Regions from separate parts of the Homo sapiens genome. Here region 1 is linked to region 2. The links are contacts of gene promoters, found by promoter capture Hi-C in blood cells and fetal thymus (Javierre and others, 2016). All regions are on one chromosome and are shown on one strand. The core of a region is centred on a gene start or on the middle of the fragment in contact, and the rest is flanking DNA. Distances in the headings are between cores, read along the strand shown. Region 1 overlaps BEST3 (bestrophin 3). Region 2 holds the start of YEATS4 (YEATS domain containing 4).

The links. Contacts are between HindIII fragments. The CHiCAGO score rates a contact against its expected background, and 5 or more counts as called.
Region 1: a fragment that was not itself captured here is called in contact with the fragment with the promoter of YEATS4 in region 2 in 1 of 17 cell types (fetal thymus); the score reaches 5.1 in fetal thymus.

The regions. Positions count from the first base shown.
Region 1 is chr12:69,694,617-69,699,283 of GRCh38, reverse strand. It overlaps BEST3 (bestrophin 3), which reads left to right. Exons shown (of 10, transcript NM_032735.3): 1 at 1-79; 2 at 1,471-1,637. The coding sequence starts at 1,486. Among named protein-coding and RNA genes, the nearest start is that of BEST3, 2.4 kb to the left of the region's middle. The HindIII fragment of the contact is 303 bases long and covers 2,080-2,382 here.
Region 2 is chr12:69,356,642-69,361,227 of GRCh38, reverse strand. YEATS4 (YEATS domain containing 4) reads right to left here and starts at 1,485. Exons shown (of 7, transcript NM_006530.4): 1 at 1,205-1,485. The coding sequence starts at 1,255. RefSeq lists a silencer at 951-1,110 and enhancers at 536-1,137, 1,391-1,580, 1,138-1,741. The HindIII fragment of the contact is 4,618 bases long and covers 1-3,982 here.

The DNA.
Region 1 (4,667 bases), core at 982-3,481, 340 kb before region 2:
GACCTGAAGGCACCTCTTCGGGGGAGCCCGAAATTTGAAGATTCTCTTTCCTGTCGGAGACTACAAACCAAATAAATAGGTTAGTGCCCAGAGTAAACCTATGCATTTTAATTCTGACCTCTACTTGCTGTGATTTTCATTTTCCTGGCAGAGCTTGAAAAGAAGAGTGAACTACTAAATGAAAGAAAGGAAAGTTAATTAAGGACTGTTATTTAAAACTACCGGGAGTCCATGAGAACAAATTATGAAATGGGTTTAATTTATTATGCTCCTCTCCCAATTTTGGCTGTATTCGCACTAGGCAAATAGACAAGGTAAAGATGGAAAAATAAAACCGGTTTTGTGGCATGAGTCCCATCCTTTTGTAATGCCACTTACTTGTGCCAAAAGGCCCTACCTTCTTTATTAAAATCAGTAATGTTGAAAGCTAAGTTTGTGATTTTAGAAAATGCTGTAAACGTAGCTCCAGAGTTTCATTTCCTTAGGGAAAATAGGCAAATCAGAGTTGAATTGTTTTTCCAGCAATGAGTAAAGATAGAAAATTTTCTTGTTTATGATAAAATGTGTGGTGTAGGCTACTTTACAAAAGAAATCTGCTACAGAATTTATTTTTTGTGTCTAGTACAATTCTATCTAAAAGCTTCATGATTTCAGTCTAAGTAGCTCTATAAGACTCTCCTCATAGATCCTTTTGAGAAAAGTAAGATTTTAAATAAATCTCATTTTATTTGCATATGTTCTATCTTAGCCAGAAATTGAGCAAGATTTTCAAAGATTAGCTTTGCGCTGTCTGTTTCAAAACCTGAATATTTAATGTCTTGGTGAAAAGTGGTGGAATTCCAAAGAACTCACCAAAAACAAGGCTTTTGGGCCCAGTGCTCATCCTAACCACATTCATGAAATGGACTCAAGTAGAAAGAGTTGTAAATAATGACCTCATTTTGTTCAACTCCAAAGAGAATGTGAACCATCCCTAAGCATTTATGTACAACTTGTCATGGGGAAACTGCACCATTCTTATTTATCACTATGACCCAACTTTTTGGCTGACTTTTGAAATGCAATGAGTGCTAACGATGCATTTGGACCTCCACTAGAGAGACATCTACATGCAATCAAACCCACCAAAAGTGCCCCATCAATTAAATTCTCACGAGGGCCTTGTTTGTCTCATTTGTTCATTCAAATATATATTGGCCAATGGCTATATAATCTAAAAATAATATTTAACAGTTAAGGCAAGTTTAAGATGTCTAATATTACTCTTCCCAGAGACTGCTTTCCTCCTGCTTTCTGCTAAACTGAGATAATGGTTATCTGAAAGTTCCGAATTATAGAAACTAAGAAAGACAAAACAGAGATATGGCTGACTAGTTGCTGGCTTGAATTTCCTTGATATACAGACATACAGATTTATGCCCTATTTTAAACATTGCTTTTTACTTGTGTTTTGTCTTCTTGCTCTTCTAGAAAAAACTATCCAAGATGACTGTCACTTACTCCAGTAAAGTAGCAAATGCAACTTTTTTTGGATTTCATAGGTTACTCCTCAAGTGGAGAGGCAGCATCTACAAACTACTGTACAGGGAATTTATTGTTTTTGCTGTTCTTTATACAGCAATAAGTTTGGTATACAGGTACTTTTCTTTACATGTCTCCTTAAATGGCCATCAGATATTGTGTAAGATACAGTCTCAAAAATCTGAACCTTTTGATTGCCACTGACTTCGCATTATGGAACTCCTTTTTTGCGTGAGCCTCTCATTTGTCTTCTTCCCCTCAGGACAGATTTTAATCCACCACTAACCATTGTTAGGTTGTAAAATAGACCCTCACTGTTAAGATTCAGGTGGCCTTCATTCCAGCCCCAGTTGTGCCTCGAGACTGTTGCAATAGGCACAAAATGGAAGGATTATCCTTAGATCTTTACTGTGTAAAGACTTTTGAATGGGCAAAGTCCACAGACAATAATTATTTGTGCTTCTGTCAACTTGTCATTCATAGTTGATGATTTGACAGCTTGTAGCAACTACCTATATAATCAACATGTTCATGATTGGTGTATGTCAGGGAAAAGCTTTCCTTCTTTTGGCCTGGAATGAAAATATCTTATCCAGGATGATGCCTGCCACACTTAACAGTACCTCAACTAAAGCAAAGGCCTGTAGAATAATTTATTTTCTTTCCGTTTTCTGAGTTGAGGGTATATTATGTTCACAAAAGGAGGTGCTTATTCTTTATAACATTACAACATATGCCTGTCAGATTGACAGGAAATTTGAGCAATATCAAGTCCAAGAAATATTTTTATGATGAAAAGTTATAGTCTTAATAAAATTTCATCAGTATGATAAAAGGGAAGACTTATGAGATTTTAAAGCTTTTTTTATTAAAATTGAATGCATAAATTTCTTCTCTGGAGGAAGCTAAAATTTAAAACAGGAAAGCTAAAGGTTTTTGAGGCTGTATTTCCATTTTTTCTATGTTCATAGTTTGTTATTTTTCTTCTGCATACAGATAAACAAATTTGTGTTTCATTGCTCTCACATTCTTCCTTGCAGCAACAGGATCTCCTTTGGAAAAGAGGGATATTAATGTAGTTGACTGATAATTATTAAAAGTAAAATAGGTACAGCTATTTTTCCACATGTCAAAACAACCCTTCCAAGCAAGTGTATGCATTGGTATATATCTTGACAAAATATTTTTAGAGGGAAAGTCCTATTAACAACCTCTAATAATTTTTCAGACATGTCATATAATATGATATTATTTTGGCAATTTAGGTAGGTATCACCTAAGCCTTCAGAATATGAAATGGTAAAAGATACAATGGTGTTTCGTGATAATTATCTCATTAGTTCATTTTTACTAATGTGAATTTATTGCTGCTACTTCTGCTAAGAATAGAACAGAATAGCCCTTAGTACAGTTGCAATGTAGCTAGAAATGTTCCTTGGGGCCTCAACTTTTGTTCCAATATCATACTTATACCCCACAACATTTTATGCATATATTTCTTCTAAAGCAGAGGGCTTACATTTATAACAAAAATTATCAGTTCAAGTCATCCTTAAATTTTTAAAGTTCAATTGTAATACCTTATTAAAATAGATCTTTCTATCTTAATCAAAGGTATACCAAGAACTATAGGATGAGTTTGTCAAGAAAATCAAACACATCTATAGAAAAATATAGATGTAGTTTCATTCTCTAAGTCTTTATTAGCTCTATTATAGGTACATAATTATTCCTAACAAAAATTATAAGGAGGAACCAGATTCATTAATTTGATTACATTTATTTCTATTTTTGGAGGAATTTGACAAAATAATTTCTGAAATACTTTCTAGCTATTAAAATTTCTACATCTATTAGCCAAATATTTTTTCTTTGGCCAACTATTAATATGAACCATTTTATTATTAACTAAGTATGAGGCAATTTGTTAAGTGGTTATATATATGTATACATATATTATTTAATCTTTACAATGCCTCTTATATATAGATATTTTTATCCCCACTTACAGATGAGAAAACTGAGACTCAGAGAGTTCAAAAATATGCTCAAAGTCCAAATTCATAAGTGTCAGACTTGGAATTAAAATCTGGCTTTGTCTGACCTTAAAAAAGGTCCATGCTTTCCACATTTAAATCCTCTTTGACCATGTCTATTTGAACATCAGAAACCATTCTGGCTGTAATTGTCATCAGCATAACCCTGATAGACCTCTGCAACAATCTGGTACCTCTCCTGTCAGCTTTCCCTGACTTCAGTAATTCTAACACCTCTTCCAAAGCTGGGGCAGGAACTCCAAGCTCACCCTGTACCCCACACACCTTCTTTGTCAGGACCAGCTCCCAACAGCTCTCTATCTGCAATCTAATTGGTTGCTTACTGTTATCTCATTATCCCTTTGCTTCCTTTATCAAAGTTCTACTGACCCAAATGAGCCTTTGATGCTTGTTATAATGGATCTTTCCTTGAGTTCCTTCCTCCTTTGGAACAGCTACACTCGTCGATTTATTCAAATTCATCTGTTTGGCTTTCCTTCCTGTATTTTGGTCATTATTATTAGTTTGCCTTAAAACATTTCTCCAGACTCTGAATCTCTTCCCTATAATGTAAATATCAATAATAGTCTCATTAAATGCACTTATGTTTAACAATACCAGAAAATGGGGTTTGGGCAGGTTGGGTTAGATCTATAATATAAATTTTGAGAGAGTGACTAAATTTAATAATGAAAGTTTTCATTTCTCATTGTTAAATTTGTTTTAGACTCCAAACAATTCTGGGCTTTAAAATGAACAGTTATAATATCCCTTGAAGGGATATTATACACATGATAATCAAGAATGTGCTAAGTTGCATATTCAGGAGAAATATCAAGGTGTCAAATTCAGTGTTATTATTTAACAATTACTTAATAATGCTAATTCATACTTAATCAATAATACACTCTTTTTAAGGTATTCCTGATGAATAATTGAAAACTGAACTATTTTGTAACATACCTTGCTCTAAATCCAATGAATCAATCATATAAAACTTTTAAAATATAAAGTTTTTAAAATAAAATGATTAATTAATCCCACTATTTAATAGCCAATCATGTTTACAAAATGTTAGCACTTGAGACATTAAGCAATTAAAAAGCTTTT
Region 2 (4,586 bases), core at 236-2,735:
CCTACTAATTATTGCTATTTTTTTTTTAAAGAAACATTGTCTTGCTCTGTCGCCCAGGCTAGAGTGCAGTGGCACGATCTCAGCTCACTGCAACTTCCGCCTCTCGGGTTCAAGCGATTTTCCTGCCTCAGCCCCTCTAGTAGCTGGGATTACAGGTGCCCGCCACCACGCCCGGCTAATTTTTGTATATTTAGTAGAGACGGGGTTTCACCATGTTGACCAGCCTGGTCTTGAACTTCTGATCTCAGGTGATCCACCCTCCTCGGCCTTCCAAAGTGCTGGGATTACAGGCGTGAGCCACCTTGCCCGGCCCTGCACGTTAATTTTTAAGGCAGGACCCACTGGCTCCTGATAAAAACAACTATTTGTACCCCTTCTGATTTTTATTTATAAAGGAAAGGAAATTTTTCTTTAAAAAGAATGAACCACGGCTGGGCGCGGTGGCTCACGCCTGTAATCCCAGCACTTTGGGAGGCCGAGGTTGCAGTGAGCCGAGATCGTGCCATTGCGCTCCAGCCTGGGCAACAAGACAGACACTTCGTCTCAAAAAAAAAAAAAAATTAACGTGCCAGGGGCTGTGTGAGGGAAATAAATATTACAATGTCAAACATTACGCTAGGGTCTATGGTAATTTCATCAAAAACAAAAGAAGTTGACATTTACTGAATGTTCCCCATGTGCCAGGCACAGTGTTATGCTCTTGCTTTGAGGCTTTGTGAACACCATGAACTCCAGCAAATTTTCTTAGCTTTCGTATGCCTCGGTGTCTCAGTTACCGCACTTGGAAATACTGCGGGTAAGCGCTCAGCGACTGTTTGCTACAGTTATTGTTATCCTCACACCAGGAGGGTGGCGTCACCGCTTCACCAATAACCTAGATTGGCAGCGAATGTGCACCAAGCTGAGCTTTCCCAGCCCTCGGAGTCGCCCGTTTCCTTGGCAGCCACGTCCGGGTTTCCCCAAGCCACCATTTATCTGTTTGTTTTTTGGCGGGGGTGGGAGTTGGCAGTGACGCGAGGAAGTTGGGGCCCAATGAACGCCGGTTTTTCGCTCAATGGCTCTGACTCGCTCTCCAACCTGAAACCACGGTTCAAACCCGAGGAGAAAAGGCGCGAAAGGAAACCCAGTGGGCCCTCCCCGCGCCGCGCAGGGAGGAACCGAGGCGGGAGAGCCACCCCGGAAGAGGGGCGGTCCGGGCACTGACCTTTACTCTCCCGCCGGAGTCAGGCCCAAATTCGGCCATTCTCTTGAACATATTGTCCCACGGAAGAAGCCGCCGCCGCCAGGGAAAGAGACCGGGGCTGGCGGGGTCGCCGCTCCCCTCAGAGACCGCGCTCCTGTCGCGCGGGCCCAGGCGGAGGGTTTCTAGCCGAAGGAGGGCGAGTTACTTGGGCTCACGGCGGTGAGTAACCGTCAACTCCTCAGGCCGACTGTGCTCCTGAAGGCCATTCAGGCCCGCGCAGGTGGAGAACGCCGCGAAAAGAGGGGCGACGGCCGCACCGCGCGCAGGCGCAACGGGCTCGCGTATGCGCACGCAGTGTACACTGCGCACGCGCCTGGCGGCTGCAGTCACATCACAGGACCAGTGCAGGAGTTCCAAACCAAAAAAAAAATGAAAGGCAGGAAATAATAAATGACTTCAAAAAGTTGTCCAGATGTTAAGGAGATGAGTTTCCACACTGAAAGATCCTACTAAGCACCCAGCACAAATATTAAAGCATCCACGTCAAGGCATATCATTGTGAATTTTCTGAACATCGAGGAAAAAGAGATCCCACACCCTTCCAGGTTATACAGACTATAGAATCAGAGTGGCTTCAGATTGCTCAGTTAGAATCTAGGAAGCCATACGGCACTGTCTTCAAAACTCTGAGGGAAAATTACTTCCGATTTAGTCTTCAATACTCATCCAACTACCAATCTAGTGTGTGAATAGAATAGAGTTTCAGATGTGCTAAATCACTACACACAAAAAATAGTACCTATCTTACCTTTCTCAGTACCTCCAGGAAGATCCTGTAGATCTGATCCACCAAAATGAGGGAATAAGCCAAGAAGGAGGAAATTATGAAATGCAGGAAATACAATAAATAACAAACACAGAAAATAGTAAGATCCCAAGATGATACTGAAAGAGCTCCGGGAACAATAGCTGTGTATAGGCATAGACGGCAACGCATCTAGATTAGATTCGGTCAGAAATCTTTGGGAGACACTGCTTCAGAAGGATGGGATTGACAAAATTCCAGCTGGCGTTGAATCAAGAGGAGATTTGACCGAGAGTTTGGAGTTTAACTCATGACAGGTACACAGAAAACTAAGCGGCTGTAAGAATTATGCAGCTATTAATTCTAGGGAAAACAAAATCTTGTGCAAGAAAGGAAAGTAATTGTATTTATTGTTACATAAATACTGAGTATTGGCCGGGCGCGGTGGCTCACGCCTGTAATCCCAGCACTTTGGGAGGCCAAGGTGGGCGGATCACGAGGTCAGGAGATCGAGACCATCCTGGCTAACACGGTGAAAACCCGTCTCTACTAAAAATACAAAAAAATTAGCCGAGCGTGGTGGTGGGCGCCTGTAGTCCCAGCTGCTTGGGAGGCTGAGGCAGAAGAATGGCGTGAACCCGGGAGGCGGAGCTTGCCTTGAGCCGAGATCGCACCACTGCACTCCAGCCTGGGTGACAGAGCAAGACTCCGTCTCAAAAAAAAAAAAAAAACAAAACAAAAAAAAACTGAGTATTGATCCCCCCTCCCCCTCAAAAAAAGAATTACATTTAGAAGGATGGGCTTTGGAGAAGGGTACTATGCTTGATGGGGATGGAGGAGGAGGAAATAGAGCTTAATCTTTAACTTCCATAGTAGGAAGTCAGTATCTTAAAATGGAAAAATCAAGAAGAAGCAATATAGGTGTAATATTGAAAAGCATGGAGATAAATATTTTAAAAAATAAGCTAAAAGAGTAGAAAATACTGCTGATTGTAATTTTTAGTAATTCCACTTAACAACTGTAAAGAAAATACTTTTTAAAAGACTTCACTAAATAGAAGTGCAAGGGATGTGCTCAGGGCTTAGTTATATTAGTGCCACATGAAGAGCTCAATTGTCATATGGATGTCACTGCATTTCAACCAAGATAGGAACTGAGTTTCTTTGAAAATGATCAAACATTGATATTGATTTTTATTCTGTTGCCAGAATAAGAGTAGAAATTTGGTTTGGGGGCGTAATTATATTTAAAACAATTGGTATGACTAAGAAATATTTATCAAAAACTAAAGCAAAATCTCCAACAAACATTGCTTTCCCTCTTCAGTCTACTTTGTCTAATCTCTGGCAGTTTCCTCAATCAGCCTGTGTTGTTGGGTTATCCTGGCACTTCTTGGACATGTCCTATCTCTGTTTCTCAGCTGTCACTCTTCAACTCTCTCTCCGCTACCTTGACTCATCCTTTGTACACCTCAGGGTATCTCGATATGCATAAACTCATTCGTTTTTAGTTTAATCACGTCAGAATGGTCCAAGAATTTTGAAGCCAAAGGTTGCACCTATGTAGTGGCCCTCTGCTGCCCTCACATGGCTAGTCTATGTGCTGCATTTACATAGCCAAGAAGTGGCTTGGAACCCCGCAAGCGGTTGTACTGGAATCATGTGGCCTTGAAGAGTTAATTAAAAAAAAAAAAAAAAAAAAAAAAAGGCTGGGCGCGGTGGCTCGCGCCTGTAATCCCAGCACTTTGGGAGGCCAAGGCGGGCGGATTACGAGGTCAGGAGATCGATCTCCTGACATGGTGAAACCCCCTCTCTACTAAAAATACAAAAATGAGCTAGGCGTGGTGGCGAGTACCTGTAGTCCCAACTACTCGGGAGGCTGAGGCAGGAGAATCGCTTGAACCCAGGAGGCGGACGTTGCAGTGAGCTGAGATCGCGCCACTGCAGTCCAGCCTGGGTGACAGAGCGAGACTCCGTCTCAAAAACAAAAAGCTTAGAATGTTCAGTTTGGAGGGAACATACTAAATAATCAGCAAGAGATTTATTCGATCAACTGATATTGATTGAGCATGTACCATGTTCCAGTCACTCTTCTAGGTGTTTAGAATACAGAAGTGGAATGAGTGAAAAATTTCTATTCTTCCTATCAGGACAGTGGTTCAGCATATTATAAAATCAGAGATGTATCATGGTAAGGAGGGTGTCCAGGTGTTGGGGAAGGAAGCAACCCACTGAGGGATGTCAGAGCCTGAGTGGAGAGCACTTGGGCAGAGTTGGGGAATTGGTTACATACAGGCAAACCCATCAAATACGTAAATGTACTAAGGATACATTTTAAGGATAATGAGTATAATGGATGCTAAGTTACTTACTGTCAGAGAAGAGAGTTAAAACATGCGAAAGAAGAAAACTAGAGTGAATCCTGTGGTGTGAGATTAGAATTGGAGATATTGGTGTGGATTCATGATTTTCAATATAAATAGATAGATATAGAGATAAATATAGTGTAAATACATATATCTTCCAGCTCTGTTCACTGATAGGGCCTGGAAACAGTGATACCCTAGTGCCCAGATCCTGTTTTTTTAATACTATTAT